Linked DNA regions of Homo sapiens: all the other regions are linked to region 1. Evidence: promoter capture Hi-C in 16 types of primary human blood cells and fetal thymus (Javierre and others, 2016). All regions are on one chromosome and are shown on one strand. The core of a region is centred on a gene start or on the middle of the fragment in contact, and the rest is flanking DNA. Distances in the headings are between cores, read along the strand shown. Region 1 holds the start of MED13L (mediator complex subunit 13L). Region 2 overlaps SPRING1 (SREBF pathway regulator in golgi 1). Region 3 overlaps SPRING1 (SREBF pathway regulator in golgi 1). Region 4 overlaps LINC03088 (long intergenic non-protein coding RNA 3088). Region 5 overlaps LINC03088 (long intergenic non-protein coding RNA 3088). Region 6 has its middle 12 kb from the start of LINC03088. Region 7 has its middle 41 kb from the start of LINC03088.

Region 1 (4,356 bases), core at 1,101-3,600:
TTGGTCACCAGGTGAGTAGGATAGAACTACCTTCACCTCTGATGTAAATATATGGAATCTGGATATGATGGGCATTATACCCTCGAATTGCTCAGGCCTAAGTAACACCGTGTATGTTGACAGAGTGGTTTTTTTTTTTTTTTTTTACTTTTACCAACAGTATCTTTATTTATTTATTTATTTATTTTTTTGATGGAGTCTCACTCTGTCGCCCAGGCTGGTGTGTAGTGGTGCAATCTCTGCTCACTGCAACCTCTGCTTCCTGGGTTCAAACGATTCTCTTGTCTCAGCCTCCCAAGCAGCTGGGACTACGGGCACACGCCACCACACCCGGCTAATTTTTGTATTTTTAGTATTTTTAGTAGAGACAGGGTTTCATCATGTTGGCCAGGCTGGTCTCGAGCTCCTCACCTCAGTTGGTCTGCCCGCCTTGGCCTTCCAAAGTGCACGGATTACAAGCGTGAGCGACTGCATCCGCTCATCAACAGTATCTTAATAGAAATTCTCAATATTGGCCTGAGGTCATTGGGTCAGCAATCAGGATCAATTTTTGAGATTAGGAAATGAGGCTCAAAGAGTTAAACTATGTTGGTCAAAATAATGCAATTAGAGGGATGGCAAAGCCAGCCAGAGGCATCTTTCTAAGGAGCCTCCTGAATTCATGCTCGGGCTCTGGAGTCAGAAGGACCTGAGTTTGAGCCATGTACTAACTGAGAGATTGGAGATGTCACTGCACACCTCTGAGTTTTACCTAATTACAGCCTAAGAATAATAACAGTATCTACTTTAGGTGGTTGTTCTGCGGATTATGTGAAATAATGTAGGTAACGACATTCATTGTAACAATATGTTGCATGATAATACACATTATAACATGTTGCTCATGAGTTTTGCTTTAGCAGTATTTGTGGTAGTTCCAAAACTCAGTTCACGTGTCTTAAGACTTCTCTTATTATACACTCTCATCTCTTCCCTGCTTTCTACTCTTCCTTTTTTTTTTTTTTTTTTTTTTTGAGACAGGGCCTCTCTCTGTCACTCAGGCTGGAGTACGGTGATGCGACCTCGGCTCACTGGGCTCACTGCAGCCTCTGCCTCCAGGGCTCAAGTTATCCTCCCACCTCAGCCTTTCGAGTAGCTAGGGCTACAGGCACATGCCACACTACGCCTGGCTAATTTTTGTATTTTTGTATTTTATTTTTTTTGTCATGACGGGGGTTCTTGCTACATTGCTCAGGCTGGTCTTAAACCTCGGCTAGGATTACCGGCGTGAGCCACTGTGCCAGCCATCCACTCTTCCTCTTTTAGCTTAATCTACCTGAAACAGCTGATTGTTCCATGTTTGGAGGCGTATTAGTGAAGACATTGTTTTCTCCTCCCCCTTTTCGGGGATCCATTTCTTGAGGACTGGGAGAGCTTCTCTTCATAGCAGCACTCCTCCGGACTCCCAGGCCATATACACTCAGGAAATGTTGGTTATCCAATGAATGACGCCAGGAAGAAGGGTCTGCTCCCAACACGGCCTTAGCACAGTGCCTGGAAGTTATAACAGATTCTGGCACACAGCAGGAGCTCAGGAAACATTTATGTAATGAATGAATGAATGAATGAATGAGTGCACACAGTAACTAGGAGTAAGGGCTCAATAAACATTTCTGTATTAAACGCACAGTGTCTGGAACACAGTAAGCGCTCCGTCTATGGCAGCCGTGAATATCCCTGGGCGAAGCCTGTGAAACCTTGTCCAAGAGCTTGGCTTCACTGTGCGCGGGTTCGAATCTGGACTCCTCTTCCCAAGTGTGCGACCTCGGGCAAGTGATTTAATCCCTTTGTGCTTTAGTTTTCTCCTCTGCAAAAGGCGGACGGCGGCGCGAGCCTCTGAGGACACATTCCCCAGGGCACTCGGACCCGCTGCCTGGCCCACATCGCGGCCGCCGCGCCACGCCAGCCGGCCTGGGCTGCGAGGGCACAGGCCGGGGGTCCCGCGCCCTCCTCCGCGGCCACCACGGGCGCGCCCGGGACCCACGGTCCCGCCCCGCCACGATCAGTGCACCGCGAGGGGGCGGGGCGGCCACGAGGGGCAGCCCACGGCAGCCACGGGCCGGCAGTCCGCCGCCCGCCGGGGAGCCCGGCCGCCCGCACTTCTTTCTCTCCCTCTCTGCCTCCCTCCCTCCCTCTTCCCGGCCGGAGGACCCGGCCGCGCTCAGCTCAGCAGCGCCTCCCGCGAGCCGCCGCCGCCGCCGCCACTCCGGACCCCTCCCCCGCCCGCCCCTCGCTCCCCCCGCGCGGCCGGCGCCCGTCACGTGACCAAGCGCCAGCCAATGGCGGGCCGAGCCGCGGTCGGCGGCCGCCATTGCTGTCAGAGCAAGCGAGCCCGGGGAGGGAGGAGAAGCGAGGCTGACTGGGGAGGAGGGGGGGGTGGGGGAGGAAGAGGAAGGAGGGGACGTCGCTCGGCTGCCGGGGTCGCCCGCTGGCTTCGTCCGCACCCCCCCCTTCGCGAGTTCGCGCTCCGCGGCGGCGGCGGCTCCGAGGCGGCGGCGGCGGCTCCGGGGCTCGCCTCCCCTCGCGCGCCGGCGGGGGCCGAGGGGGAGTCGGTGGCTGGAGATAAACAAGGCGGCGGCAGCGGCAGCAGCGGCGGCGGCGGCGGCTGAGGAGCAGGGAAGGCGGAGGCGGTGGCCGGCCCGCAGCGCCGGCCCGGGGCGCGCGCCCCCCCCGCCAGCCCGGGCCCGCTGCCCCCGGCGCGGCGTCGCCGCGGCGCCTCCCGCCTGCCCGCCGGCCCTCGCGCCCTCCCCCGGCGGCGGCGGCGGCCCGGCCGCCCCGCGCTCCCCGGCGAGGCGCCGCCGCCCGGCCCGGCCTCGCCTCGGACGCCTCGCTCCGACATGCCCCGCTCTGGCGGCCGGGCTCGCGGAGGATCATGACTGCGGCAGCGAACTGGGTGGCGAACGGGGCGAGCCTGGAGGATTGTCACTCCAACCTCTTTTCGCTGGTGAGTAGCCGGGCTGCGGGGAGGGGGCTGTGCCGGGGAAGGGGGGGGGTCCCCGACCTCCGCCGCCGACCAACTTTCTCCTCCCGCCGCCGGGACTTCGCCCCTCCCTCGCGTCTCCCCGCCGTTCGCCTCTCGCCGATTCTCCCCCTTTTGGATCGTCTCTCTCTCGCCTTGGATCCCATCCAGTGTTTATTTGGCTCTTTAAAAATCATTTGTGAGCGCGGCGCTCGGCGTGGAATTTGCATGTGGAAGTCTCGGAGCTGCGGATTCTGGGTCGCACTTCGAACGCCCACCCTCTGTTGCAATCGCACTCCCCTTCTCCTCCCCTTTCCCCCCTTTTTTTCCCCCCGTAAATGTGGAAGGCTTTGCCTTGTGCTGCCGCGCCTCCGATCGGCAACCTCTTCCCCCGTTGTTGGATCAGCTGCCTGCCCGCCCGCCTGCCTTTTGAATTTTTTTAAATTCCATAATGACACCTGCAATTTCGCCCTAAAATAGTTGATTGAATGCGATTGTGTCAGGAAAGGACTCTTGCACCCGAAGCTCCCGCGATTGTAAACATCGACAGCCGCCTGCCTCTCGGGGCTTACTATGCTGGAGAGCCGTAAAGCCATTGCACCGAGCCGACGGAAGGTGGAGAAAGCTTTTTCTTCTTTCTCTCCTCCTGTGTCTTTTAAAAACTGTTTTTCTCTATCCTAACAACGAATCCGCACACACACACACACACACACACACACACACACACACACACACAAAAGCAACAAGCTGGTCGGTTTGATAACATCGCTTTTATCTGCCTTCGCCTCTCTCGCGCTCTCTCTTTCTGATAATTGACAACTTTTCCTTCGGATTTGAATCGCCTGCCTTAATCTTGAAGCAGTTAGGGTGTCAATTGTTCTCGTGGAAGCCTGGCACCCGCCGACGGTGTCTAGATTCATCGAAATTAAAAATGTATAGGGCTCCAGCAACTCTTTTCCTGGCGGTGTCAGTGACATTTGGTGGTAAATGCCATCTTTGCTTTTTATTGGGTCGTATTACCTACCTCTGAAAACATTCACGTTGTTAAACCTGGCGTTTAGGCTAATAATTGCAGTGCGTGGTCTTTAAATATGTGCTTTGTGCATGAGTTACTGTATGTATAGCTATGTGCCCAGGAGAGTACGAATTTGTTTAAATATTGAGCAAAGATTTGTAAACAGATGTAAGGCAATTACGTTTCAAGCGTAGAATATAATTGGAAAATTGGCTGAACGGTTTATTTAATTTAGCCTTAAAAACACCCAACTTGTTTTAAGTTGTGTACCCTGTTTTTTTTGGGGGGGAGGTGAGTCCCTTTTGGAGAGCATGCATTTTGGAAATTATTTTCTGTAACCCCC
Region 2 (4,356 bases), core at 1,325-3,824, 450 kb before region 1:
TTATTTTTTCCAGGCTGGTGTCCAACTCCTGGGTTTAAGCAATGGCCTGGCTCAGCCTCCCAGAGTGCTGGAATCATAGGCATGAGCTACTGCACCCAGCCTTTAGTTTTTTATAATAACCTAACCCACTGGGTTCCAAAATGTGGTCTGTGGACCCCAGAGGGCCCCTGAGACTCTGTCAGGGGATCTGCAAGGCCAGAATTCTTTTCAGAATAACGACAAAATGTTATTTGCTTTTTTCACCTTGTTGACACTTCCACTGATGGTGCAGAAGTCATGGGGGGTCAAGCCAGTACCTTAGCAAGGGTCAAAGCAGCGGCAGCAGACTGTGCTACTAGTTGTCGTATTCTTCACGGCCATACTTGTAGTTTTTTTAAAAAGTACTAATTTCACTTAAGAATAAAGCAGTCAAAATTATTACTTTTGCTAAATTTTGATCCCCAAGTACATATCTTTCCTGTAGAATGAAATGGGAAATATGCCTAACAGTACGTTCTGCCTACAGAAATATGATGGGTGTCTTGAGGAAGAGCTTTGGCAATTGAGCTGCAAGCTTAAGTAGCCACTTTTTTTCATGGAACACTATTTTTTCTTGAAAGAACAACTGATACACTAGTTATTCAGATTTGGGTATTTGGTAGACATTTTCTTGAAAATGAAGTGAGCTTGTTACTTTACAGAAAACATCTGACATTATTTGCCAATGATAATATTTAAGCTTTCAAGTGAAAATTAGAATTTTGGAAAATGCGTATCTGCTACGCTTAGCTTGTAACTTTCTAACACCTAAAGATTAAATCCCTGGTGATATTAACAAGTGTGATTTTTTTTAGTATTGTATAATGAAAATGTGTCAATTAGAAGATCTGCGTAAGATCTGTTCAATGTGCAACACAGACTCATGGATCTGAACAGTTTATGAAAAATTCATTGATATGGTTTCAGATGCCACATTGTGCTGAAGGAACTGGGTTTTTTGGTAAGTTTTATTGAGATATAATTCACATATCATACAGTTCACCCATTTAAAGTATGTAACGCTTGTTTGTAGTATATTCACAGGCTGGGCATGATGGCTCAGCCTGTAATCCCAGCACTTTGGGAGGCTGAGATGGGTGGATCACCTGAGGTCAGGAGTTTCAGACCAGTCTGGCCAACATGGTGAAACCCTGTTTCTACTAAAAATACAAAAATTAGCTGGGTGTGGTGGCAGGTGCCTGTAATCCCAGCTACTCGGGAGTCTGAGTCAGGAGAATCACTTGAACCTGAGGTGGAAGTTGCATTGAGCCAGGATCCACCACCGTACTTCAGCCTGGGTGACAGAGCAAGACTGTCTCAAAAAAAAAATTAAAAAGTAAAAATAAGGCTGGGCGTGGTGGCTCACGCCTGTAATCCCAGCACTTTGGGAGGCCGAGGCGGGTGGATCATGAGATCAGGAGATTGAGACCATCCTGGCTAACACAGTGAAACCCTGTCTCTACTAAAAATACAAAAAATTAGCCGGGCGTGGTGGTGGGTGCCTGTAGTTCCAGCTACTCGGGAGGCTGAGGCAGGAGAATGGCATGAACCTTGGAGGCGGAGCTTGCAGTGAGCCGAGATTTGCGCCACTGCACTCCAGCCTGGGCGACAGAGCGAGACTCCGTCTCAAAAAATAAATAAATAAATAAATAAAAATAAAAACAAAAATAAAAAAGTAGTATATTCACAAACCAGTAGTTTTAAAACATTTTCATCATCATCTTCCCCCTGCCCCTCAGTCCTAAGCAATCAGTAATCTACTTTGTTTCTATAGTTTTGCCTATTTTAGATATTTCATATAATTGGCATTCTATAATATGTGGTCTTTTTTGATTGGCGTTTGCATTTAGCATAATGTTTTCAAAGTTCATCCATGTCCTAGCATGTATTAGCACTTCATTTTTATGTCCGAATAATATTCCATCGTGTGCATCTGTCACATTTTGTTTATTCATTCTTTATTGAGAGACATTTGGGTTGTTTCCACCTTTTAGTTATTATGAATAACGCTGTTGCAGACATTCATTTACAAGTTTTCATGTGGACATGTTTTAATTTCTCTTGGTATATTCCTAGGAGTGGCATTACTGGGTCAGATGGTAAATCTGTGTTAAACTTTTTGAGGAACTGCACAACTGTTTTCCAAACTGGCTGCACTGTGTGCAGTGAACTTTTAGGAACCTGCAGCTGTCAAATTCTGGTGTAGTATTTAGTGTCAAGTATGCTTTAGTATTATCCATAATTTTCTGCAAAAGTTGTTAAAGTAGTCCTCCCTTTTCCAATTACACATTTGTGTGGAATAGATTTTCTTGGTGTATTCCAACCCAGACAATATATTGTGACAGATATTGAATATAGAGGTCGCTTCGGAGATTCAGCTGTCTTCCATCGAGGGAGACATTAAAAAGGTTTGCAGAAATATAAAAACATTGCCCCTCTCCTTACTATTTTTTTAAGTGTTTTTTCACAAAAAACTCATGTACCGAATTCATTGTTGTTATTTTTAAATGAATAAAAACGATCTAAAATAAACATTTTAAGGATTTATGTTTTAATTTTCAATATGGTAAGCATCAATAGCCATAACTCACATAAACCCACATATTGAGGTCCTCAGTAATTTTTAAGATTAGAAAGGGTTCCAGGACCAAAGGCTTTTGAGCCCCGCTGTCCTGGGTGCTCTGGCAGAGGCGCTCCTGCATGCGTCTGACTTGGCCGTCCCTGCTCAGCTGGCCTCAGTTTGGGTGGTCTTCCACTCCCTAGCTGTGGGCCTTGAGGGAGTTGGGGTTCTTCCTCTGTAAAATGGAGATGGTGAGATGGAGTGTACGGGTCCAGGGTGTGTACCGTTGATGGAGAAGACGCTATGAACACTGTGAAGCTCCCCGTGCACCTTAGCTCCGCTGCGGTGAGACTGGAAACTCATGGCGCAGATGCGGCAGCTTTTGCCTGGAGAATAGTTGATTATCCTCTCTGCTGCTTTGAATTCCTCTTTTCTTTGGTTTTCATGTTAATTAATGCTATGGGGGATAACTTAAATTGTAGAGATGGGAGGCAGAAGAAATCAGTGATGATGGTGGGGATGCCATTGAGGGGAGGGTTGGGAATGGTGAATGGTACCAGGTTTCTTGGGTGCATTTATTTAACAAATAACACCAACTGTGTGCCAGGCACTGTTCTGCTGGATGGCAGAGACAGAGTGGGCAAAGCAGATGACGTCTCTCCCCTCCAAGAGCCTATATTCCACTAGCGGGTAAGGAGGAGAGATAGTAAATAAGCAAAATGATTTCAGATAATGATGTATGTTATGAAGAAAACAAAACAGGATGACATGATCTAGTGGCAGGGCGGGCCTAACTATGCGAGGCATTTGACCTGAGATTAAACAAGTTCCCATCTTGGGAGTCAGAAGGGTCCTTAGAGTTCCTCTCGTGTAACCAGATGTTCTCATACGTGTTCAAGTGGTGCAGCTCCTGAAAGTCTCAGGGCTGTTTGCATAACTCCTTGAAAATCTACGAACGTGTTCAGCCTTAAAGGAGCTAAGTGTGTAAATTGGTGCCAAGTTAGATACTGTCTAGAGTGAAGTATATATCATATAATATGAGACTTGCTAATTTGGTGGGGATTTTTTTGTTTTGCACTGATTATTAAGAGAGAGAGATATATATATATTGCAGAATGTTTGTCTCGTATTGCACAGGGTAGAGGAGAGGAACAGTTACCCATAATCTCACTAACCAGAGGCATCCACTGTTCATATTTGGGCATATTTTCTTCCTGCCATTTTTCATCCTTCTTGTTTGTATAGTTGAGGCATACTGTTTCTTCATTTAACATATAAGCATTTCCCTATCTTTAAAAGCTCTTTGGAAATAGGATTTTTATAACTAAAAATTTCCATTATCAGGCTGCATTTAGCCATTTCCCAAATACTAGACATTTGGAGTACCCTCTGGCCTTTCTCCCCCTCCCCTCTTTTTCTGAGGTTCATAAGAGTGCCTTATGTTTCCGTGCTTTACTGCTTACATGGGACATTTATCTCACTTGACCTGTGATAACTCCTGAAAAGTACACAGCACAGTTATGAATACAGCCCTTCTGAAGTGAGACACAAAGCAACGCATTAGTAATCACAGTGTGTTTCTGTAGCTCTTTACAATTAGGAAGAAAGCCCTCATGTACTTTTGGCTCCTGCTCTTCTCTTTGTACCTAGTGCACCCCATGTGGACATGTGTCACAGCATCTGCAGTGCCTGATCGCACTGATATATGGAGGTACCCCTTTCTCAACAGCTCTGAGGCTCTTCGAATACAGAACCAGACTGCCGTTCATCTCTGCATC
Region 3 (4,356 bases), core at 998-3,497, 430 kb before region 1:
TCACTATTCTTTTTTTTTTGAAACGGATTCTCGTTCCATCGCCCAGGCTGGAGTGCAGTGGCACGATCTGGGCTCGCTGCAAGCTCTGCCTCCTGGGTTCACGCCATTCTCCTGCCTCAGCCTCCCGAGTAGCTGGGACTACAGGCGCCCGCCACCGTGCCCAGCTAATTTTTGTATTTTTAGTAGAGACGGGGTTTCACCGTGTTAGTAGCCAGGATGGTCTCGATCTCCTGACCTCGTGATCCGCCCACCTCGGCCTCCCAAAGTGCTGGGATTACAGGAGTGAGCCACCGCGCCTGGCCACATCTCACTATTCTTAAGGAAGAGAGAGAGCGAGAGAGAGTGTTGTCCTGTCCTGTGGGGATTGGGGCATTGTATTAAGTTGTACTGGGGGATGTCAAGATAGAAATGTTGAGTAAGTTACTACCTGAATAAATATTTGACCAGTTGATGCTAATTTGAATAGTAAATGTGATGACATTATATATTCTCAGGGATGTTTCCATACATTGGCTCTGTGTGTGCGTGTGTGTGTGTGTGTGTGTGTAACAAAAGCAGTATGAAGTATGTGAGCAATATCCTAATTTTATTGACAAGAGCACTGACCTTAATGACCTTGAGTAAATTACCCTCTCCGGCTTTGGTTTCCTCATTTGTCAATTAAGGGTGATGGCTAGCGTATCTTGCAGATCCAAATTCCAATTTTTGTAACAAGCCAAAAGTCCCCCTGGCTGTTAAAGCAAGACCAGAGCCCTCGTATCCCAGCGGCTGGGTCCCAGGCTTTTGATTTTCACAGGACAAATGTAGCCCAGCCATCTGGAGCCCGTTTTTCTCCAAACCAGGGCTTCCTCCTTCTCTCTTGCAGATTTCAACTGGGGCTCACCATTTTCTGCCTCTTCCTCCTCCAGTTTTAAAGAGACACCATATCCTTCTCTGCTGGGACCAACTTCCCATGTACTGCTGCCCTGCACCTGTGAAAACAGCTGCTGTGTTTTCTGTCATAAAAATAGCTGCCTTTTGGCAGAGAAGCACACAACGGTACTACGTTTCTGAGCCTTAATGCAGTGCTCAATTATTTAGGTGTGCTTCACCTGAGATACACAGAGCATCTTGGAACTCCTACTAAGCAGGGCTTCTACAGGCATTGCTCAGCTCAGTAAAAGGTTTTCCTTTCTCTGCTTTTGTGATTACCAGGCAGAAACCTTAAAATGTATGAACTTACAAAGAAATTAAATTGTGCCAAATTAGATTCCCAGCCCCTAGAGATAACCACTAATTAAAGTTCCGCTGGAGCGTTTTGCCTGTATTTTGTATATAAACGTGGATTTTGTATTTGTATGTAAATAAAGGTAGGACCCTGCTGTCCATATTATTTTAAAATAATTAGCTCCTGTTAGATTGATTTAATCCAATGATAGCGAATTCATTTGCAGAGCAGGCAAGCGCACTTTCCACTTCTATCATCCTGCCTGGAAGATTGAAGCCCAGTTAGAGGTTAAAACCCTTTCATAATTGCACAGGAGTTTAGCTTTGCCTGCTTTTTCCTTGTCTGATTTTATGCAGTGGGGAAGGAAGTCTTTTTGTTCTGCACAAATAAATTATAGGCATTTGTCGCGGCCGGAGTTGACCTGCATTAGGGATGCTGAAGAAACCTGTCACGGCAGGGTGTCTCTCGGCGTGACTCGACTTTCCTGAGAGAGCAGAGATCGGGAAAACTGCACTCCAGATCTCCTGAGCCTGTCATTTATTTTAGTGAATTGCTAAATGCAGAAATGTAAAATATAAAAAGGCTAGGGGAGGATCTGTGGACCGTCTTACTGGCTACCTGGTGTTGTAAGATTATTTGAGCTCAAGGCAGTCCACATTTCCCCCAGCACCAGCCAGCTCCGCCCTGTCAAGCTGCTGGTCTACATGGTGGTTTTCGAGGGTATAAAGGACTTCAGTTTCTAAAGATGTTCCTAAATGCTCCGTGGCATCTGCAGCAGGATGTCGGGAGCTGGAATCCACTGTGCTCTCTTCCCTAGGCACGTGCTGGACTCAGTTTCTCCCGGGAGGTTTGCATCTGGGCAGCACTTCAGGGCGTGCTCCTCGAGCTCCGTCCGTGGCATCCATACCTGCCTGGGCTGTGCCTGCAGCCTGCTAAATGCCAACCTGGAAGCCCAAGACAGATAGGCTTGGAGCAGCTTAGCAGCCGGCTGGGCTAATTTATTTGACACAAATCAGCTCATTGACCTGATTTAGCACGGGGAGGAACTACAGAGCCGAGTCACATGTGATCGTAAAGCCCTTTCTTCTCACTGCAGCCCTTTCAGACCTCGAAGGATGGCAGTGTAGTCAAATGACACTTGCGGTGCGATTTCAAGGGAAGGAGGAGAAGATGGAGAGATGGAAAGTGGAGAGCAAGGCAGCGCGGGTGGCACAGACACCGACAATTGCTTTCTGTGCCACTTGGTGGCACCAATGCCATAGGTTTTCTGTCCTCAATGTGATCGTTGTCTAGAGATTATGGGCCCCGTGCCTGCGTGGAGCTCTCTCTCCTGAAAACAATGAAGCTGTTTCTATAGATGAGAACCATCTGGTGGGGATGACAGATCAGGACTCTTTCCTGGGTCCGGGCGATTTTGTGAACAGGGACTCAGGAAAGTAGCCCTTGCAGAAGAGGGAACTGGGCATGCTGCTGGTGCAGAGAAGACCCAAGGCTTAAATAAATACTCACAGCTACCCCCTTCTTCCTCCTGCACCCTCCGCCAACACGAAAAGTGGGATAGGCCTCTTAACCATTCATACTCAGACAAAGAAAAACATTTATGAAGCACTTGCCATGTGCCACTCTGCACGTGCAGCGTCCCATCCCCATCTTCAGAGACCAGCATTCTTCTTTTGTGTGTGTGTGTGAGAGAGAGAGAGAGAGAGAGAGAGAGCAAGACAGGGTCTCACTCTGTTACCCAGGCTGGAGTGCAGTGGCGCGATCTTGGTTCACTGTAGCCTCAACCTCCCAGGCTCAAGTGATCCTCCCACCTCAGCCTCCTGAGTAGCTGGGACTGCAGGCACACATCATTACACCCAGTTATTTTTTAAAAATGTTTAGTAGAGATGGGGATCTCGATATATTGCTCAGGCTGGTCTTGAACTCCTGGGCTCAAGTGATCTGCCTGCCTCAGCCTCCCAAAACGGTGGGATTATTATAGGCGTGAGCCACTGCACCCAGCCAGGCATTCCTTTTCTTTTTTCTCTTGGAATGGAGTCCTGTCACCCAGGCTGGAGTGCGGTGGCGCGATCTCTGCTCACTGCAACCTCTGCCTCCCGGGTTCAAGCGATTCTCCTGTTTCAGCCTCCCAAGTAGCTGGGACTACAGGTGCATGCCACTATGCCTGGCTAATTTTTGTATTTTTAGTAGAGATGGGGTTTCATCATGTTGGCCGGCTGGTCTTGAAGTCCTGACCTCAGGTGATCTGCCCACCTTGGCCTCCCAAAGTGCTGGGATTACAGGGCATGAATCACCGCGCCCAGCCAGGTGTTCTTTTTTGTCATTTTATAGAGGAAGTCTCAGACGCTCAGGTTAATTTTAGCACAAGTTTACACCATGACATGGAGGAGCCACCTGCAACTCCAATCTGCGTGCAAGCAGGGCCGGGGCAGCGCGTTGCCTTGGCACGTTTTGATCACCCTTTGTTGTTTCCTGTGGGCAGGGGCTGTGCCTCAGTCTCTTATTTCTGGGCCCATTGGCCTGTCTATGAAAGGATGTCAACAGGATAATGCATGGGGTCCTTCCAGCCCTGGTATTCTAGAATTGTAGTTGGTGGCTTCTAGGACCTGGAAGGTGTTGCTTGAAACCAGTGCTGTTTAATCAGTGGGAGATTTTACACCACCCACTTCAAGCAATGTTTGAAGACATTTTGTTGTTGTTTTTGTTTCTTTGTTTGTTTGTTTTGAGACAAAGTTTTGCTTTGTGGCCCAGGCTGGAGTGCAGTGGCACAATCACTGCTCACTGCAGCCTCGAACTCCTGGGCTCAAGTGATCCTCCCATCTTAGTCACCTGAGTAGCTGGGACTACAGGCATGAGCCACCATGCCTGACTAATTTTTAATTTTTTTTTTTTTAGAGATGGGATCTTGCTGTGTTGCCCAGGCTGGTCTCCAATCCCTGATCTCAGGTGATCCTCCCACCTCAGCCTCCCAAGTAGCCGGGACTACAGGCCCATGCCACCACACCTGGCAAAAACCCATGCTGTTTAACCAGAGGGAGATTTTGCCCCCAGGGGATATTTGGCAATGTTCGAAGACATTTTTGATTGTCAAAAAATTTATGTGCAGGGGTGCTACTGGCATCTGGTGGGTAGAGGCCAAGGATGTTGTT
Region 4 (4,356 bases), core at 1,094-3,593, 420 kb before region 1:
GCACAACCGCGTCTTCCTCCTGCCAGCCCTGCTGTTTTAGCTCTTCGGCACTTGCCTGCTATCTCTGCTCTCTGTAGTCAGGGTGCAGTCCCGAAAGGTTTAGTGATTAGGAGAAACTTACTTCCAATTGAGGTTCTTCCAACAGCTCTGTGACGTCGGGCAAATTACTTAACATCTCTCAAACTCAGTTTGCTGATCTATAAAATGGAGATGACACCTTGCCCTCCCTTTTGCCATGAGGATTAAATTAAATGAGCAGAGTCCTCCTCCCGGGCTATCCACTCTGAGCACCGAGGAGTTGCTACCATTATTTCCTCCTTATCAGGGGCCCTCATTTAACCCACTCGGCCCTTGCCAAGGGTCACCTGCCTCCTCCTCCCTCTTCCTCTCCCGTCCTGCTCCCCCACCTCTTCTGTGTCATCCGTCCCCACCAGCGAGCAGCCCCCCTCTCCTGACGATCCTCCCCTCGCCCTCCCCTCGCAGCATGCGGATCTCATCACTGTGATTACACCGTGTTAGCCACAGTGATTGTTCTATGCCTTGGCACCTCATTACTGAAATAAAGTTAACATTAATGGGAGTCCTGCAGCTAATCCCTCCGCTCACCTCTCCTGAAAATGCATTCCGGTGATTAGCAGGAGAGACACATGCATATATTCATTTTAAAACTGTTCCCCTCCTCCCACCCTCCCTTCGCTTCTACCCACAGACACTGGGAGATGGAGGCCAGGGGGTCTTTTAGCTGCCAACGGGCTGAGGACGGAGACGGGGAAACCATCCCGAACAGGGACTCGGCAGGGCCTGGGGAGCAGCCAACTACCCCCCCAGAAAAAGAAACATATCCGTTTCCTTTAGGTGGGGTGCAAGTAAAAACAAAACCAACTAGCAAAACACATAGGCCCTGGAGTGGGACAGATGAGGGTGTTGCGGGGAGGGGGGCAGTGTGGTCCTAGCCCTGCCACTTACTAACTAGGACACTTTGGTGAAATTGTCCTAACCTTGCTGATCTCCAGTTTCCACCTCCGATGAAGGGGGATGCTAACTCACATCTTAAGTTCCAGTGCCCTGGGATGAACGTGTCAGATTCAGATGTGGGAGATCCCAGCCCCACGACTCCAGCACTTGCACGGTTCGCTTCCCTCCCCTGGCCTATGGAACTGGGCGTCAGCTGTGTCCATGGGGTCCCTCTCAGCCCTCCCCACTCCCAGTGCCGGGATGTCCCCTCTCCTCTTCCGTTCCAGAGCGGGCGATGCCATCCCATGCACAATACAATGAAACTAATTGCTTGGTGGTGCATTCTCCTTTATAAGAACTACTAGCCCCCAGGGACTCTGCAAACCTGCCCGCTTGCCGATCTGCAGACAAATAAATGATCCTCCCCCAGGACTCAGGAGACGGGCTCCCGGGTCTGCTCAGGTAACCCGCGGCACTCCTTTGGTGCATTTTTCCCCGTCCTGATTAAAAGTGGGGGCAGGTGACCCCCGTGCGACTCCCACTGGCGGCAGCCAAGAAACGGGAGCCGGAGAACAGCAGAGGGAGGCGTGGGACCCTGTGTAATGAGATTCGCAGACGCCGTTCCTCACCCTCCGTGTCAAGGAGACATTTTCAAAAAGGTTTGACACAGCATCCTCGAAGATCCCTTTGCCAAAACACAAGGTGGAGGCCCCTGGAGTACTTTAAGCCGGCTTCTGTTAACAGAGCAGTCCGTATGCATATTATAATCACGCCGCTCCAATGCCCCGTTAAGCAGCTGTTCCCACAAAGAGGGACAATAGTCCAACCCCACCCCTTTTAGAGCTGATTTCAGTCTTGTCTTTGCTGGTGCCAATTCTTTGATCAGTTTTCACTTAGGATCTGGAGGGCATGTTACAAAGTGCTTTGGGCTGTCTGCCAACAGGCACCTCACTGGCACATGACAACAGCCCAGAAGTGTCAGTGCTGGGAGAGAGACAGAGCTCGCGGGATGCCTTTTAAAAAATAATTATATTTGAATTTTAAAAGCAATCTTCATATATGTAAGTAGCTTCATTTATATGGAAAACTATGCTGGTTCCTCTACCCTTTTAATATTTGATGTCGCATCAGCTTCCTTCACAGTTGGGATAAGCGGTCCGTGGCTTCTTGGGGACTTTTTGGACTCCTGGGTTAAGAAAAAACAATGAGAGGGCTAGAGACTATTATTTCTTTCCCATTTCTCCTCCATTCCCCTTCCTCCTGCACCTCAACTGGATGCTTTGTTGCTAGATCGATTGTAGAAGATCTGGAAGGGCAAGGTGGGGAATTGGGAGTTGAAAAATAACTTTTGTTTGTCGGTGGTGGTAACTATCATTTATTTTATTTTTTGATTGTGGTAAAATACACACAAGATTTGCAATTTTCCTTCCTTCTTTCTCTTTCTTTCGTTCTTTCTTTCATTTTTGACAGGGTTTCACTCTGTCACCCAGGCTAGAGTGCAGTGTTGCAATCTCAGCTCACTGCAGCCTCAACTTCAAGGCTCGAGTGATCCTCACCTCAGCCTCCAGAGTAGCTGGGACTACAGGCATGCAACACCATGCCCAGCTAATTTTTGTATTTTTATATATTCTTTTTTAAGACATGGGTTCCCCCTCTGTTGCCCAGGCTGCTCTCAAACTCCTGAGCTCAAGCAATCCTCATGCCTTGGCCTCCCAAAGTGCTGGGATTACAGGTGTGAGCCACTGCACCTGGCAAGATTTGCCATTTTCAATGCCCAAAAAGATTATGTCAGCTAATGTGTACACCTAAAAGTGGTGTGCAGTTGAGTGACATCGTGTGCATAGACACTGTTGTGCAGCCATCACCACCATCTATCTCCAGAACTTTTGCACCACCCCAAACTGAAATTCTTTGTGTGTGTGTGTGCGTGCGTGTGTGTGTCAGAGTCTCACTCTGTCACCCAGGCTGGAGTGCAGTGGTGCAATCTCGGCTCACTGCAACCTTTGCCTCCTGGGTTCAAGCGATTCTCCTGTCTCAGCCTCCCAAGTAGCTGAGATTACAGGCATGCACACCACACCCAGCTAATTTTTGTTATTTTTAGTAGAGACAGAGTTTCACTATATTGGCCAGGCTGGTCTTGAACTCCTGGCCTCAAGTGATCCACCAGCTTCGGCCTCCCAAAGTGCTGGGATTAAAGGCTTGAGCTACCATGCCCAGCCCCCAAACTGAAATTCTATAGCACCCATTAAACAGTAACCTCATCTCCCACTCCCTCCAGCTCCTGGCAGCCACCATTCTACTTCCTGTCTCTATGATTTTGACCGTACGACAGGCCTCATCTAAATGAGACCCTCATTTTGTGTCTGACTTCTTTCACTTGGTATCATGTCCTCAAAGGACATTCATCCACGTTGCAGCATGTGTCAAAACCTCCTTCCTTTCTAAGGCTGAATAATATTCCATATACATATGGACCACATTTTGCTGATTCATCATCCATCTTTGGACATTCGAGTTGTCTACCATTTATTGAGTCTTACAGGTTGCCAGCCAGCCATGTTAGATGTTTATCTACTTACAGACATCTAATTTAATTCTCACCAGTGTCATTTTATGGTTGAGAAAAAAGAGATGATCCTTGCTTGAAGTAAACTGCTATTGACTGGTAGAGCTGAGATTTGCTTTTAGGGATGTCTGACCCTAAAACTATGGTTCTCCAATGTCAGCGTGTTCCAGAATTGCCTAGAAGATTCTGTTAAAAAGAAAGGCTGTGTCTGACCTATTCTGATTCAGAAGGTATGGAATGGGACCCAGGAATCTGTATTTTTTATTTTTGTGGAGACTGGGTCTTGCTATGTTGCCCAGGCCGGTCTCAGACTCCTGGCCTCAAGTGATCTTCCCACCTCTGCCTCCCAAAATGCTGGGATTATAGGCGTGAGCCACTGCGCCCGGTCGGGATCTGTATAACAAGCTCCCGAATCCAATATAGGTTATCAGAGAAGCAGACCTTGCTAAATATGCTCTAAAGTTTAGGGATTTGACTGCTATGTTATATGACCTCATTCTTAAGGTTGTTGGAGGCAGCTCTTCAAAGAGCATTTCAAGATAAACAAAAATGTTCCAGGTAAAGGAAGAGTTGGGAGAGACTTATACAGGGAATCCATAAAGAGCTCATACACGGGAGAGTGTATGAAGGCCCACAGTTTGGGCTGCATGTGCGACTGAACTTTTTTTTTTTTTTTTTTTGAGATGGAGTCTCACTCTGTCACTCAGGCTGGAGTGCAGTGATGCGATCTCAGCTCACTGCAACCTCTGCCTCCCGGGTTCAAGCGATTCTTCTGCCTCAGCCTCCCGAGTAGCTGGGATTACAGGCATGCGCCACCACACCTAATTTTTTTGTAT
Region 5 (4,356 bases), core at 1,039-3,538, 390 kb before region 1:
GATGTGGAGAAAAGGGAACACTTCTACACTGCTGGTGGAAGGTAAATTAGTACAACCTCTATGGAAAACAGTAGGGAGATTTCTCAAAAGAACTAAAAATAGTCCTACTATTCGATCCAGCAACCCCAAAACTGGTGTATATACCCGAAGGAAAAGAAATCATTGTATCAAAAAGATACCTGCACCCATATCGCAGCACTATTCACAATAGCAAAGATAAAGAGGCTAAGTATCCAGAACACATGAATGGATAAATATCTCTCACACACACACACACACACACACACACACACACACACACGAAGACTACTCAGCCATGTAAAAGAATGAAATCATGTCCTTTGCAGCAACGTGAATGGAACTAGAGGCAGTTATCTTTAAGTGAAATAACAGACACAAAGTCAAATACTGCATGTTCTCACTTATAAGTGGGAGCTAAATAATATGAACACATGCACATAGAGAGTGGAATAATAGACATTGGAGACTCAGAAGGGTGGGGAGGGGGAGGGAGAGGGATGAAAAGTTACTTAATGGGTACAATGTACACTATTCGGGTGATGGCTACACTAAACCCCAGACTTCACCAGTATGCAATATATCCATATAACAAAACTGCACCTGTACTCCCGAAATCAATCAATCTATGTATTTTACCGATCATCTATCAGTCTATTTATCTTATCTTTCATCAATCTATCTTATCTATCAATCATCTATCTTATCTATCATCTATCAATCATCTATCCATCGTATCTATCTTCTATCAATCATCTTATCTATCATCTATCAATCTATCAAGTCTTATCAATCTATTATCTATCTATCTATCCACCCATCCAATCTCGCTCTCTTTCTCTTTCTCTCTCTCTCTCCCCCTCTCTAAAGCACAAGCTCGGCTGGGCGCAGTGGCTCATGCCTGTAATCCCAGCACTTTGGGAGGCGAGGCAGGCAGATCATTTGAGGTCAGGAGTTCAATGAGACCAGCCTGGCCAACATGGTGAAAACCCTGTCTCTACTAAAAATACAAAAAAAGTGAGCTGGGCATGGTTGGTGGCATGCATCAGTAATCCCGGCTACTCAGGAGGCTGAGGCAGGAGAATCGCTTGAACCCAGGAGGCAGAGGTTGCAGTGAGCCGAGATCATGCCACTGCACTCCAGCCTGGGTGATAGAGTGAGACCATGTCTTCCCTCACCAAAAAAAAAGCACAAGCTCAGGAAGTTGGGAACACACATGGGGAGACACGTGCTCTGGGATATGAGATTGGGGGTAGAAACCCCCAACGTGCATGCTCTGAGTTGAGCCTGGAGAGACGGCACTATTGAGAGATGAAGGGATGAGGAGGAGCACATGGGCAGAAGGAACCACAGCGGCAAAAGCAGCGACAAGCCACTGCACCCGGGAGGATGGCTATAACCAGGGAAACAAAAGAGGAAAATAACAAGTGTTGACGATGATGTGGAGAAACTGGAATCCTCATGTGTTGCTGGTGCAAATATAAATACAGAGCAGCCATTCTGGAAAAAATACAGTGCAGCCATTGTGCCATTTTGGGCAGTTCCTCAAAAAGTTAAACATAAAATTATCATGTGATATAGCGTATCCACCCCTAGATATATACCCCAAATAACTGAAAACAGGGGTATTTAAAGAGATACTTGAACACAAATGTTCATAGCAGCACTACTTACAGTAGCCAAAAGGTGAAAACAGCCTGAATGTCTATTGATGGAGGAATGGCTGAACAAATTGTGGGCTATTCATACAATGGAATATTATATGGCTATAAAAAGGAACCAAGTACTGACCCATACTACAACATGGATGAACTTTGAAAACATTATACTAAGTGAAGGAAGTCAGGCATAAAAGGTGACCTACTGTATGACAGCATTAGAGGAAATGTCTAGAATAGGCAAATTCATAGAGACAAAAAGTAGATTTGTGGTTGCCAGGGCCTGGGTGCCAGGGGAGAAACTGGAGAAACTGCCTAATAGGTTGAGAAATTTTACTCTGGAGTCATTGAAATGTTTTGGAACTATGTAGAAGTGGGGTTTGTACAACATTGTGAATATACTAAAACCCACTGAATTCTACCCTTTAATATGATTTTTTATTATGTGAATTTCACTTAAATATATATATATATATATATAATTTTTTTTTTTTGAGACAGCGTCTCACTCCATCACCTGGGTTGGAGTGCAGTGGTGCAATCTCAGCTCACTGTGACCTCTGCCTTCCGGGTTCAAGCAATTCTCCTGCCTCAGCCTCCTGAGTAGCTGGGATTACAGGCATGTACCATTACGCTTGGCTAATTTTTGTATTTTTAGTAGAGACAGGGTTTTGCCATGTTGGCCAGGCTGGTCCTGAGCTGCAGCCTGCCTCGGGTCCCGAAGTGCTGGGATTAGAAGCGTGAGCCACTGCGCCTGGCTCCACCTAAATAATTTTTTTTTTTTAAGCACAGGGAAGTGCAGTCTGTAGGGGAAGAACTGACGTTAGAGTAGGGAGCTAGGCAGACATGAGCAGGGCAGGAAAGGGCCCCCACCCCGACCCACAGGAATGTCAAGTGACCATCAGGTGATAGTCAGGTGGTTGTTAAACTCTCTCTCTAAAATACTAATTGGGCCAGGTGTGGTGGCTCACACTTGTAATCCCAGCACTTTGGGAGGTGGAGACATGTGGATCACTTGAGGTCAGGAGTTCGAGACCAGCCTGGCCAACATGGTGAAACCTCATCTCTACTAAAAATACAAAAATCAGTGGGGCATGGTGGTGGGCACCTGTAATCCCAGCTACTCAGGAGGCTGAGGCAGGAGAATCGCTTGAACCTGGGAGGCAGAGGTTGTAGTGAGCCGAGATCATGCACCACTGCACTCCAGCCTGGGTGACAGAGTGAGAAATCTTGCCTCAATAAATAAATAACTAAATAAATAAAATAAAAATTGGTCACAGCTGGTGCCAGAAAGGCAGGCTCCCAATAGATAGAAAACACCTGAGGCTGGTGATAACTGCTTCTGGATAAGATCTCAGCAGTTGGGCGAGTGAGCTCCAGCATGTGCATTAAGAGGCAAAATGGCTGGGGTTTAACTGATCTATGACCTTCTTCTAGCATTGCTCGAATGGTAAGGGAAGAACGCCTCACATGAGCATGCACACAACTTCAGTAAACACACTGTGCATGCGGACCCTCCTGAATGCACAGGTCCCCGCTCATATGGACAGCCCACCCCAAGGAAGAGTTAGGAAGAAGAAATGCAGACCCCGGAACCAAGCCAATGTATAAAACCCCAGGTCAAGGGTTGGACAACACACTTGGGTCTCTCAAGTCACCCACTTGGTCCTCCTCTTCCAAGTGTACTTCCTTTTGTTCCTGCTCTCAAATGTTTTAATAAACTTTTACTCCTGCTCTAAAACTTGCCTTGGACTTTCACTCTGCCTTATGCCCTCAGCTGAATTCTTTCCTCTGAGGAGGTAAGAATCAAGTTGCTGCAGGCCTGTATGGATTTGCCGCTGCTCACACTGATGGTAGATGGATTTCTGAGATTGACTTTGGTATGAGGTGAGTGAGAAGGCATAACCTTGAAAATGAGGGTTGAGGCTATTTGTAGATTTCTTAAGTGCAGTGTTAAAGACTTTCAACTTTATTTGGTAGCCAGGGGGATCCCTTTGCTTTCTCTGTACTCAGTGGCCTAGAGCAAGGATTGACACACTTTTCCTAGGAATGAGCAGATAGTAAATATTTCCAGCTTTTCGGGACACACGATCTCTGTTGGAACTACAGCCAGCCCTCTCTATCCTCAGGTTCCGAATCCAAGGATTCAACCAATTGCAGATAAAAAATATCAAAAACAATAAAAATAATAACTAAAATAATACAAATTAAATAACAATACAGCATAACAACTATTTACACTGCATTTACATCGTATTGGGTATTGTATCTAGAGATGATATAAAGTATACAGGGAAAATTTAAAGTATACAGGGGTATATGCAAGTACTATACCATTTTATATCAAGGACTTGAGCATCTGTGGATTTTAGTAATCTGGGAGGTCCTGGAACCAATCCCCCACGGATACCGAGGGACAACTGTACTCAACCCTGCCACTAAGGCACAAAATGAGCCATAGACAATCTGTAAACAGGTGGGCATGGCCATTGGCCAATACAACCTTATTCATAGACACTTTACTTTTGATTTCATTTTATTATTTAGAGACAAGATTGTCTTGCTCTTGATAAAATAAAAACTTCAGCTGGATTAAATTTAAAGTAGTTTAATTGAGCAATGAACAATTCAGAAATTGGGCAGCCTCCTGTGCCAAGGTACGCTCAGAGACCCCAGCGCA
Region 6 (4,356 bases), core at 1,057-3,556, 370 kb before region 1:
GGGAAAAAATTCATGCCCCTGCTTATGATGAAGACTCAAGCACTTGGGGAGTGCAAAGAACCAAAACACTGCTCCTTCCTGCACAGCCATGTTAACCTCACCCTCAATGTCCGCTATAGCTTCTAAAGCCCTTGCTCAATTCCCCCATGCCCCTCCCCACAACTCCTTGAGCTAGAAGAAATAACATTGTGGTTTTAGAAGAAAGGCCAAAAACCAGGTGTATTTGTCTGTTCTCATGCTGCTAATAAGGACATACCCGAGACTGGGTAATTTATAAAGAAAGAGGTTTAAAGGACTCACAGTTCCACATGGCTGGGAAGGCCTCACAATCATGGTGGAAGAGCAAGGAATGTCTTACATGGCAGTGGGCAAGAAGAATTTGTGCAGGGGAACTGCCCTTTATAAAACCATCAGATCTCATGAGACTTATTCACTGTCACAAGAACAGCACCGGAAAGACCTGCCCCTATGATTCAATTACCTCCCACTGGGTCCCTCCCACGACATGTGGGAATTGTCGGAGCTACAATTCAAGATGAGATTTGGGTGGGGACACAGCCAAACCATATCACCAGGGGTGGCAGTCATCTGGAGGAAATTTAAAAACATTATGTGGAAGGAAGTACTGGGGAAAGGATTCAGGCAATTACCCCCAAGCTCTCCCGAACAAGATGTACTTCCTCCTGGGACTTCCAAACCATGGAAGCAGCCAGTTAGAGGGGAAGCTACCGGCATTCACAGGCAGCTCAAATGATGACTTTTTGTATTTTTATTTTTGAGATGAGGTCTCACTCTGTCACCCACGCTGGTGCAATCTTGGCTGACTGCAACCTCTACCTCTCGTGCTAAAGCAATCCTCCCACCTCAGCTGCCGGAAGAGCTGGGACCACAGGTGCACGCCAGTATGCCCAGATAATGTTTTTATTTTTTATCGTAGAGACCAGGTCTTGCTATATTGCCCAGGCTGGTCTTGAACTCCTAGGCTCACGTGATCCTCCTGAAGTGCTGGGATTATAGGCATGAGCCACTGTGTCCAGCCTAGACTGACATTTTTAAGTGTGAGTTCTGTTTTGTGGCTGGAACAAGAGGAAGGCAGAGATTACTGTTTGGAAATGGCCTGGACTCTGTCCACTTTCCATAGCTCTCATCTTTGGTTTCACTTTGAAAGCTATGGTGTTGTCAGCTGGAGTTTGAAGCTCCCCCAACCCTTTTGACAGCTAAGGAATTGGGAGAATGTTGCATCTGAATGAAAAACCTGCCTTGGGTTCTGAGGTCTGCTCTGTGATGTAGATCCCTCAAATTATGCGATAGATATTTACTAAACCAAGAAACTGTTCCTCTCATACTGTTTAAAAAATGGAGGCAAGATTCATATAACAAAAAACTAACCATCTTAACATATACAATTCAGTGATATTTAGTACATTTGCAATGTTGTACAACCATCACCTTATCTAGTTCCAGAACACTTTCATTTTCATACTCCAAAAATACTCTACCTATTAAGCAGTCATCCTCATTCCCCCACCCCCACCCCCTGGCAGCCCCCGGTCTGGGTTCTGTCTCTATTGATTTGCCTGTTCTGGGCATTTTGTATAAATTGAGTTATACAATACATGATCTTTGTGCCCGACTTCTTACACTTAGCATGTTTTGAGGCTCATCCATATTGTGGCATGCATCAGAACTTCATTCTTTTTTAAGGCTGAATAATATTCTGTTGTATGGATAGACCACATTCTGTTTATCCATTTGTATCAGTTTGTTCTTCCATTGCTATAAAGAACTACCTGAAACTGGGTAATTTATAAAGAAAAGAGGCTTAACTGGCTTACGGTTCTTCAGGAGGTAGAGGTAACATGGCTGAGGAGGACTCAGGAAACTTACAGTCATGGTGGAAGGTGAAGGGGAAGCAGGCACGTCTTACGTGGCCAGAGAAGGAGGAAGACAGAGAAGAGGGAAGTGTTACACACTTTTGAACAACCAGTGAGAACTCACTTGTTATCATGAGAACAGCAAGAGGGAAATCCGCCCCCGTAATCCAATCACCTCCCCCCAGGTCCCTCTTCCAACATTGGGGATTACAATTCAACATAAGATTTGGGCTGGGACACAAATCCAAACCATATCACCATTCATCTGTTGATAGGTGTTTGGGTTGTTTGCACCTTTTGGCTATTGTGAATAATGCTGCTATGAACACTTCTATATCTCATAAGCTTATTTATTTTAGAGATGGGGTCTTGCCTTGTCCTCAGGGTGGAGTGCAATGGCGTGATCATAGCTCACTGCAACCTCGAACTCCTGCCCTCAAGCCATCCTCCCACCTCCACCTTCCAAAGTGCTGGGATTACAGGCCTGAGCCACTGCACCTGGCCCTCTCATAAGCTTTTGAAGAGCTTCTGTAGCCCTCAGCATAATGTTCTAACTTCTCAGCCTCGCTCCAATGGTAAGACCCTTTCCCCTCCCCACACTAAACCTCCTTAGGGCCTGACCTCACAGAACTACCTGTAGTTTCTGGAATTTGATTAAATATGTTTACAGTTTCTGAGTCTTTGCATAGGTGTGTCCTTGGCTTGAAATGCTTTCTTTGTCTCTCTTTCACCTGGCTACCTCTTGCTTGTCCTTAGAGACTGTCATGAAGTATCACCTTTGCTAGGGAGACTTCCACAGCACAGCATGTCTCATGTTTCCAACCCATCTCCAGGCTGTCTTGCAGAGAGTATGATGTAGGGGCAGAGGTTCACAGAACACAGGGGCTGGGATGGACCCAGGGCCCAGGCAATGGGAGAGCCCAGGAACCTCAACAATAGGTTGATGGGCATATGCTGGGAGGCAAGGTGGCCTTGGTGAATGGGATTGGGGTGTCAGGGACAAGACTGGCTTTCTGGCTTCAGTGGGATACGTTGGTAAATGTATTCAGGCCTACTGGCTCCCACTGTGTTCCTAAAACTCGTTCTGCCTATCTCCAACACAGCTTTTTTTGTTTCTGTTTTGTTGTTAGAGTTGGGGTCTCTGTCACCCAGGCTGGAGTGCAGTGGTGCAATCATAGCTCACTGCAGCCTGGAGCTCCTGGGCTCAAGCGATTCTCCTGCCTTGGCCTCCTGAGTAGCTGGGATTACAGGCATGCACCACCAGGCCTGGCTAATTTTTTAATATTTTTGTAGAGATAGGGTCTTGCTATGTTGCCCAGGCTGGTCTCAAACTCCTAACCTCAAGGAATCCTCCTACTTTGGCCTCCCAAAGTGGTGGGATTACAGGCATGAGCTAATACTCTACTTTTTAGACTGACTCTTAAATAGCCTCAGCCTTAGACACCTGCCACCCCATCAACTCCCGCTTAGATGTCAAGTTTGAACATCTGTGTTAGTCAGAAGATTTTTCCAGGCAGAGGATGAAGGAGGAAGGGGTGTGGGAGAGAGGAAGGGAGGGACTTCCTCCGTGGGTCAGAGAGGCAGCAGATACGTATGTAACTAGGACTGCCTGCCCTAGAAGATTCTAAGAAGAAAAGAAAGTAGAAGATGCAGAGAGATAAACAGGGAGAAAGGGAGGAATCAAAAACGTATTCCTTTGGGAAGTTTGCAGGGCTTATTTCTATCAAAAGAAACAATAATGTCACAGAAGTCACATGGAGTCGGGAACATTATTGGGATGTACATTCCCATGGGTTACATGAGTTGCTGACAAGCAGCGGCAGAAATGTAGCCAGGTGATTGGTCTCCAATTCTACCCCGACACTTTCAAAGAAAGTGATAAACATCACCTGCGGTCCCCATTCCGTCTTCTGTTGTCATGTGGATGAACGCAGTGATCTGCCTGTTGGATTTTAAATCTCCTAATTTAATAGGCTCCTGGACAGGTCAAAAAGTCGGCTGGGTGCAAATGTCTTATTTAAATATGGGTTTCCCTCTTTGTCCACTATGTTCATTTAAAAGAAGGAAAGGAAGGGGAGAGGAGGGGAGGAGAGGGAAGAAGGAAGGGAAGGGAAGAAGGAAGGGAAGGGAAGAGAGAAGGGAAGGGAAGTAGGAAGGAAAGAGAGAACAGAAGGGAAGAGGGAAGGGAAGAGAAGGGGAAGGGAAGGGGGAAGGGAAGGGAAGGAAGAGGGAAGGGAAGAGAAGGGGAAGGGAAGGGGGAAGGGAAGGGAAGGAAGAGGGAAGGGAAGAGAAGGGGAAGGGAAGGGGGAAGGGAAGGGAAGGAAGAGGGAAGGGAAGGGAAAAAGGAAGGGAAGGGGGAAGGAAAGGGGGAAAGGAAGGGAAGGGAAGGAAAGGGAAGGAAGAGGGAAGGAAGGGGGAAAGGAAGGGGAGGGAAGGAAGAGGGAAGGAAGGAGGACAGGAAGGGGAGGGAAGGAAGTGGGAA
Region 7 (4,356 bases), core at 1,058-3,557, 340 kb before region 1:
CATGCCTACATAAAGAAATCCAATAAAAACTCTGCACACTGAAGCTAACTGGAGCTTCCTGGTTGGTGAACACATAAATATACCCAGAGGGGCTGTGTACCCCGAATCCATGGGGAGAGGCACGGAAGCCCTGAATTTAGGACCCTCCCAAACCTTGCCCTATGTGTCTCTTCATGTGGCTGGTTCTGATTTGTATCCTTACAATAAAACTGTCAAGTATGGTGCTTTTTTAGGTTCTGTGAGCTGTTCTAATGAATTAGTGAATATAAAGGGGGTTGTGGGAACCTCCCCTAAGCTTTGTAGCCATTTGGTCAGAAGAGCAGGTGGCCTGAGGACCCCACTGTGGCTAGTATTTGAAGTAGGACAGTCTTGTTGGCAACCACGCCCTTAAGATTGTGGAATCTGACACTAACTTCAAATGCCTAGTGTCAGAATCAAATTGCAGTATACTAGTTGGTGTCTGAATAACATTCCTCTTCTCTTTCCAAATGCCTGCCCTGAGGACTTCAGGCTCCAGCATCAGGAGCAAAGACAGCAGCTTTACAGAGACTCCCACAATCATGTAAGGTCAAATCTCTATAACACACACACATATATGTATAAGTGCACAGATATGTATGGTGGCCCAGCCTCTCTGATTGAATGCTGACACATACACATGCCACATCAATTAGAGTCTCTCTGCCTTCTCTACTCAGTGTATTTCTCACTAACTACTCAAGTGCCCTGACCTAGTCATTTATTACACACCTGCCATTTGAGAGTCGCCTGGGCATACAGAGAGGGAATGATGCCATTCAGTTCTACACACGCTGAGTGGTTGAATATTGCAACCATGCTGCAAAGGAAGAACAAACCACTGGCACATCTGGACAGGCTTTGAGGAAATCTAGCATTTCCCTGGCTTTGGAAGCTTAGGGGAGATTTCTATGGGCTGAAGATCAGGTGAGGACTTGGCGGGAACCTTTCCTTTCTGAGAATTTTTCCAATGCTTATGTCCAAACCATACACAACCTGGGGTTGTGTGCAGTTTTCCTCCTTGCTTGTTTGATTTCCCATTTTTTTTTCTTTTTTTGAGGCAGAGTCTCACTCTGTGACCCAGGCTGGAGTGCAGTGATGTGATCTCAGTTCACTGCAACCTCTGTATCCTGGGTTCAAGGGATTCTTGTGTTTCAGACTCCCAAGTAGCTGGGATTACAGGCACGCACCACCATGCCCAGCTAATTTTTGTATTTTTAGTAGAGACAGGGTTTCACCATGTTGGCCAGGCTGGTCTTGAACTCCTGACCTCAGGTGATCCACCCACCTCGACCTCCCAAAGTGCTGGGATTACAGGTGCAAGCCACCATGCTCAGCCTCCATTGCTTTTATGTATCTGTCTCTCCCCACTAAGTTGTCACAGCAGTAATAACAGCTGCCATTGGGAAAGGACCCGCTCTGAGCCCAGCACTTACCACATGTTATCTTTAAAGCTTACAATTCACGTGTTGGCATTATTATTTCCATTTTACAGATGGGAAGACTGAGGCTTATAAAGTCCCCTGTCTTGGGTAGAGGACCATGCAAATGAGTCAGTGGCAGAGCTGGGATTTGAACCCACTTTCTCTCTGGTCTAAAGTCCAGGCTGAGGCCTCCCCTGAGCTCCTTCAGCGTAGGAAGACACCTCTGCCACCCTGCTGTGCAGCAATGCACATGGCAAAAATCGCTGCTCTGTGTATCTGTTGGATTTTCCTCCTCCCCTGTCACCCCTTAACTGGCTCCTTTTCTTGCAGGTGACAAGGAGGCAGCGGGAAGAAAGGCTTTCCTCACTTGCCCCTGCTTTAGGCAGATCACTGGATATTTTTAGCAGCCTAGGAAGCCTCCGAGTAACACGGGCTCAGGTTTTGAACTTGCCTGGTCAGCCCTGCCTCCTGATTCCTCTCGCAAAAGGTTTATGGTGGACTCCCAGCAGCTTTGCTGATGCAGCTAGTAATGTTTATAACCATAATCAAGCACTCCGAGAGCCCCGGCGCTGATTTCTTACCCATCTCTATCCTGTAACAGAGGATTTTTCAATCGAGTAGGTTTGCTTCATTCGTTTTAAAATAGCTCCAGCCCAGCTCTGAGGATCACACGGGGCCTCGCACAGGGATTTGTACTTAGAGTCATGGAAATACATTTATTTTACTTTCCTCTTTCTCTCTCTTTGAGGGATTTTAATACATCACGCAGGAGTATTCCTCACATGGCAGGAAAAAGCCTTGCTTTGCACTGAAGACAAAGAACTGCATGTCGTGTTTACTGATAGAGAAGAGCTCCACTCGGCTTCACCCATGGGCATCTCAGGATTAGATAATTAGGGAGCTCCTTAGTGCTTACCCTGGGGGTGTCAGCTGGAAATCTACTGTCACAATGGTGATCTTCCTGCAATTTAAATGCTGGATGTGGGGTTGGCGGAGGGAAGGCGTGTTAGAGGGGCGTCACCTTGCTAGGTTTAGTGCAGCAGGAAAGAGGCAGCATGTCTTGAATTGACTTGAACCTGATAGACAACATGAGGTCACAACCCACCCCGATTTATCAACAGGACAACTAGCCTGCAGATATCCACTCTAAAGTGCTGGGAGGGACAGGAAAGCCACGCCTAGGTGGACCCTGCCCAGGATGAAAGGGAGAAAACCAGACTGAGCTCAGTGATGACCTAACTTCAGAGGCATCACATTCTCTCATCCTCACTGTCCCACCTTCAGGGAACCTGCAGCCAGGGACCCAGGGCCTTTGAGCCTGCACTGCTGGGCTAAAAATCTAGAAAACCTATTTGTTTCTTTTTTTTAATTCGTATTTTTTAGTTAGAGACAGCGTCTCTCTCTGTTGCCCAGGCGGGAGGGCAGTGGCACAGTCACAGCTCACTGCAGACTTCAACTCCTGGGCTCAAGCAGTCCTCCCACCTTGGCCTCCAAAAGTGCTGGAATTACAAGCATATTTGTTTTTTCCTCTTTTCCTTCCCTTCCCTTTCCTCCTTTCCTTTGTTCCTCCCTTTACTCCCTCCCTTCTTCCTTCCCTCCCTTCCATGGAGGTACTCAGCTTTATTGACCAATCCCTGTTGGGTATTTAGCTTGGTTCCAGTGTTTGGCTTCTACAATTTCTGCTTTAATGAAGAAGCTTGTATGTAGTTATTTTGCATCTGTCCCAGTGTCTCTGTCGGATGAAGTTCTAGGAGTGGAATTGCTTGGAGAAAGAGGGTATCTGTTTCCTGTGGCTGCTGTTAACCAAGGACCACAAACAAAGTGGCCCAAGACAACGCATATTATTCTCTCACAGTCCTGGAGGTCAGAAGTCTAAAAAAAATTTCACTGGGCTAAAATCAAGGTGTGGACAGGGCTGGTTCCTCCCACGGGCTCTAGGGAAGAATCTGTTTCCTCGTCTTTTTCAGCTTCCTTGGCTTGTGGGCCCTGCCTTCATCTTCAAAGGACTTCCCTGTACCTCTGCTCGGTCATTACATCACCTTTCCTCTCTGACCTCCCTCCTCCCTCTTACAAGGACCCCTGTGATGACATCAGACCCACTGGGCCAACCTAGAATGACCCTTCCATGTCAAGATTCTTGCTTTAATCACATTTGCCAGGTCCTTTTTGTCACTTAGGTAACACTCACACATTCCAGGGATTAGAATGTGGACACCATGATTCAGCCTGCCTCAAAGAGTATGCACTTTTATACTTTTGAGAAACTGTAAATTTCACTTCATAGAGTTTGTAACAATTTACCTCCCCGCCATCAATATCTAGGCACCTTCATTTCCCATACTTTACCAATACATCTCTATCAAACCAATTCTTTGCAAATTTAATGATTAAAAAAATCATACTCAGTTTTTTCTTTTCTTTTCTTTTCTTTTCTTTCTTTCTCTTTCTTTTTTTTTGTCTCTATCACCCAGGCTCGAGTACAGTGGCATGATCTCAGCTCACTGCAACCTCCACTTCTAGGTTCAAGTGATTCTCCTGCCTCAGCCTCCCAAGTAGCTGGGATTACAGGCATGCATCACCACATCTGCCTAATTTTTGTATTTTTAGTAGAGATGGAGTTTCACTATGTTGGCCAGGCTGGTCTGGAACTCTTGACCGCAAGCGATCCATCTGCCTCAGACTCTCAGAGTGCTGGGATTACAGGCACGAGCCACCATGCCCTGCCTCAGTGTGATTTTAATGAGCATTTCTCTTATGAGTGAGACTGAGGATGTGTTTACATATTTAAGAGCCATTTGTATTTTATTTTGGGTACACTATCTTTTCACACCGTTTTTCTTTGGGCTGTTGGGCTTTTCCTTCAATTTGTCATTCCTTAGAGGAAAATTTTAGCCCTTTGAGTTGAATTGCTAAG

What was found. The method cuts DNA at HindIII sites, captures the fragments that hold promoters and counts their contacts. A CHiCAGO score of 5 or more calls a contact.
Region 2: a fragment that was not itself captured here is called in contact with the fragment with the promoter of MED13L in region 1 in 5 of 17 cell types (neutrophils, monocytes, naive CD4 T cells and 2 more); the score reaches 8.3 in neutrophils.
Region 3: a contact is called between a fragment that was not itself captured here and the fragment with the promoter of MED13L in region 1, in 17 of 17 cell types (naive B cells, M1 macrophages, megakaryocytes and 14 more). The highest score is 18.4, in naive B cells.
Region 4: a fragment that was not itself captured here is called in contact with the fragment with the promoter of MED13L in region 1 in 15 of 17 cell types (megakaryocytes, monocytes, M0 macrophages and 12 more); the score reaches 22.5 in megakaryocytes.
Region 5: a fragment that was not itself captured here is called in contact with the fragment with the promoter of MED13L in region 1 in 10 of 17 cell types (monocytes, fetal thymus, non-activated CD4 T cells and 7 more); the score reaches 13.1 in monocytes.
Region 6: a contact is called between a fragment that was not itself captured here and the fragment with the promoter of MED13L in region 1, in 12 of 17 cell types (monocytes, M1 macrophages, M2 macrophages and 9 more). The highest score is 11.1, in monocytes.
Region 7: a contact is called between a fragment that was not itself captured here and the fragment with the promoter of MED13L in region 1, in 17 of 17 cell types (monocytes, neutrophils, M1 macrophages and 14 more). The highest score is 30.9, in monocytes.

Annotation. Positions count from the first base shown.
Region 1 is chr12:116,275,687-116,280,042 of GRCh38, reverse strand. MED13L (mediator complex subunit 13L) reads left to right here and starts at 2,350. Exons shown (of 31, transcript NM_015335.5): 1 at 2,350-2,983. The coding sequence starts at 2,912. RefSeq lists silencers at 1,942-2,001, 2,052-2,521. The HindIII fragment of the contact is 4,130 bases long and covers 1-3,625 here.
Region 2 is chr12:116,727,208-116,731,563 of GRCh38, reverse strand. The region is part of intron 1 of SPRING1 (SREBF pathway regulator in golgi 1); the gene reads left to right. Among named protein-coding and RNA genes, the nearest start is that of SPRING1, 8.7 kb to the left of the region's middle. The HindIII fragment of the contact is 3,708 bases long and covers 721-4,356 here.
Region 3 is chr12:116,707,198-116,711,553 of GRCh38, reverse strand. It overlaps SPRING1 (SREBF pathway regulator in golgi 1), which reads left to right. Exons shown (of 5, transcript NM_024738.4): 5 at 1-1,383. Among named protein-coding and RNA genes, the nearest start is that of SPRING1, 29 kb to the left of the region's middle. RefSeq lists enhancers at 2,203-2,382, 3,683-3,732. The HindIII fragment of the contact is 5,313 bases long and covers 1-4,356 here.
Region 4 is chr12:116,690,904-116,695,259 of GRCh38, reverse strand. All of the region lies in intron 1 of LINC03088 (long intergenic non-protein coding RNA 3088), which reads right to left. Among named protein-coding and RNA genes, the nearest start is that of LINC03088, 32 kb to the right of the region's middle. The HindIII fragment of the contact is 6,709 bases long and covers 1-4,356 here.
Region 5 is chr12:116,668,570-116,672,925 of GRCh38, reverse strand. All of the region lies in intron 1 of LINC03088 (long intergenic non-protein coding RNA 3088), which reads right to left. Among named protein-coding and RNA genes, the nearest start is that of LINC03088, 9.2 kb to the right of the region's middle. The HindIII fragment of the contact is 5,264 bases long and covers 1-4,356 here.
Region 6 is chr12:116,647,063-116,651,418 of GRCh38, reverse strand. No RefSeq gene overlaps it. Among named protein-coding and RNA genes, the nearest start is that of LINC03088, 12 kb to the left of the region's middle. The HindIII fragment of the contact is 169 bases long and covers 2,222-2,390 here.
Region 7 is chr12:116,618,582-116,622,937 of GRCh38, reverse strand. No RefSeq gene overlaps it. Among named protein-coding and RNA genes, the nearest start is that of LINC03088, 41 kb to the left of the region's middle. The HindIII fragment of the contact is 1,666 bases long and covers 1,475-3,140 here.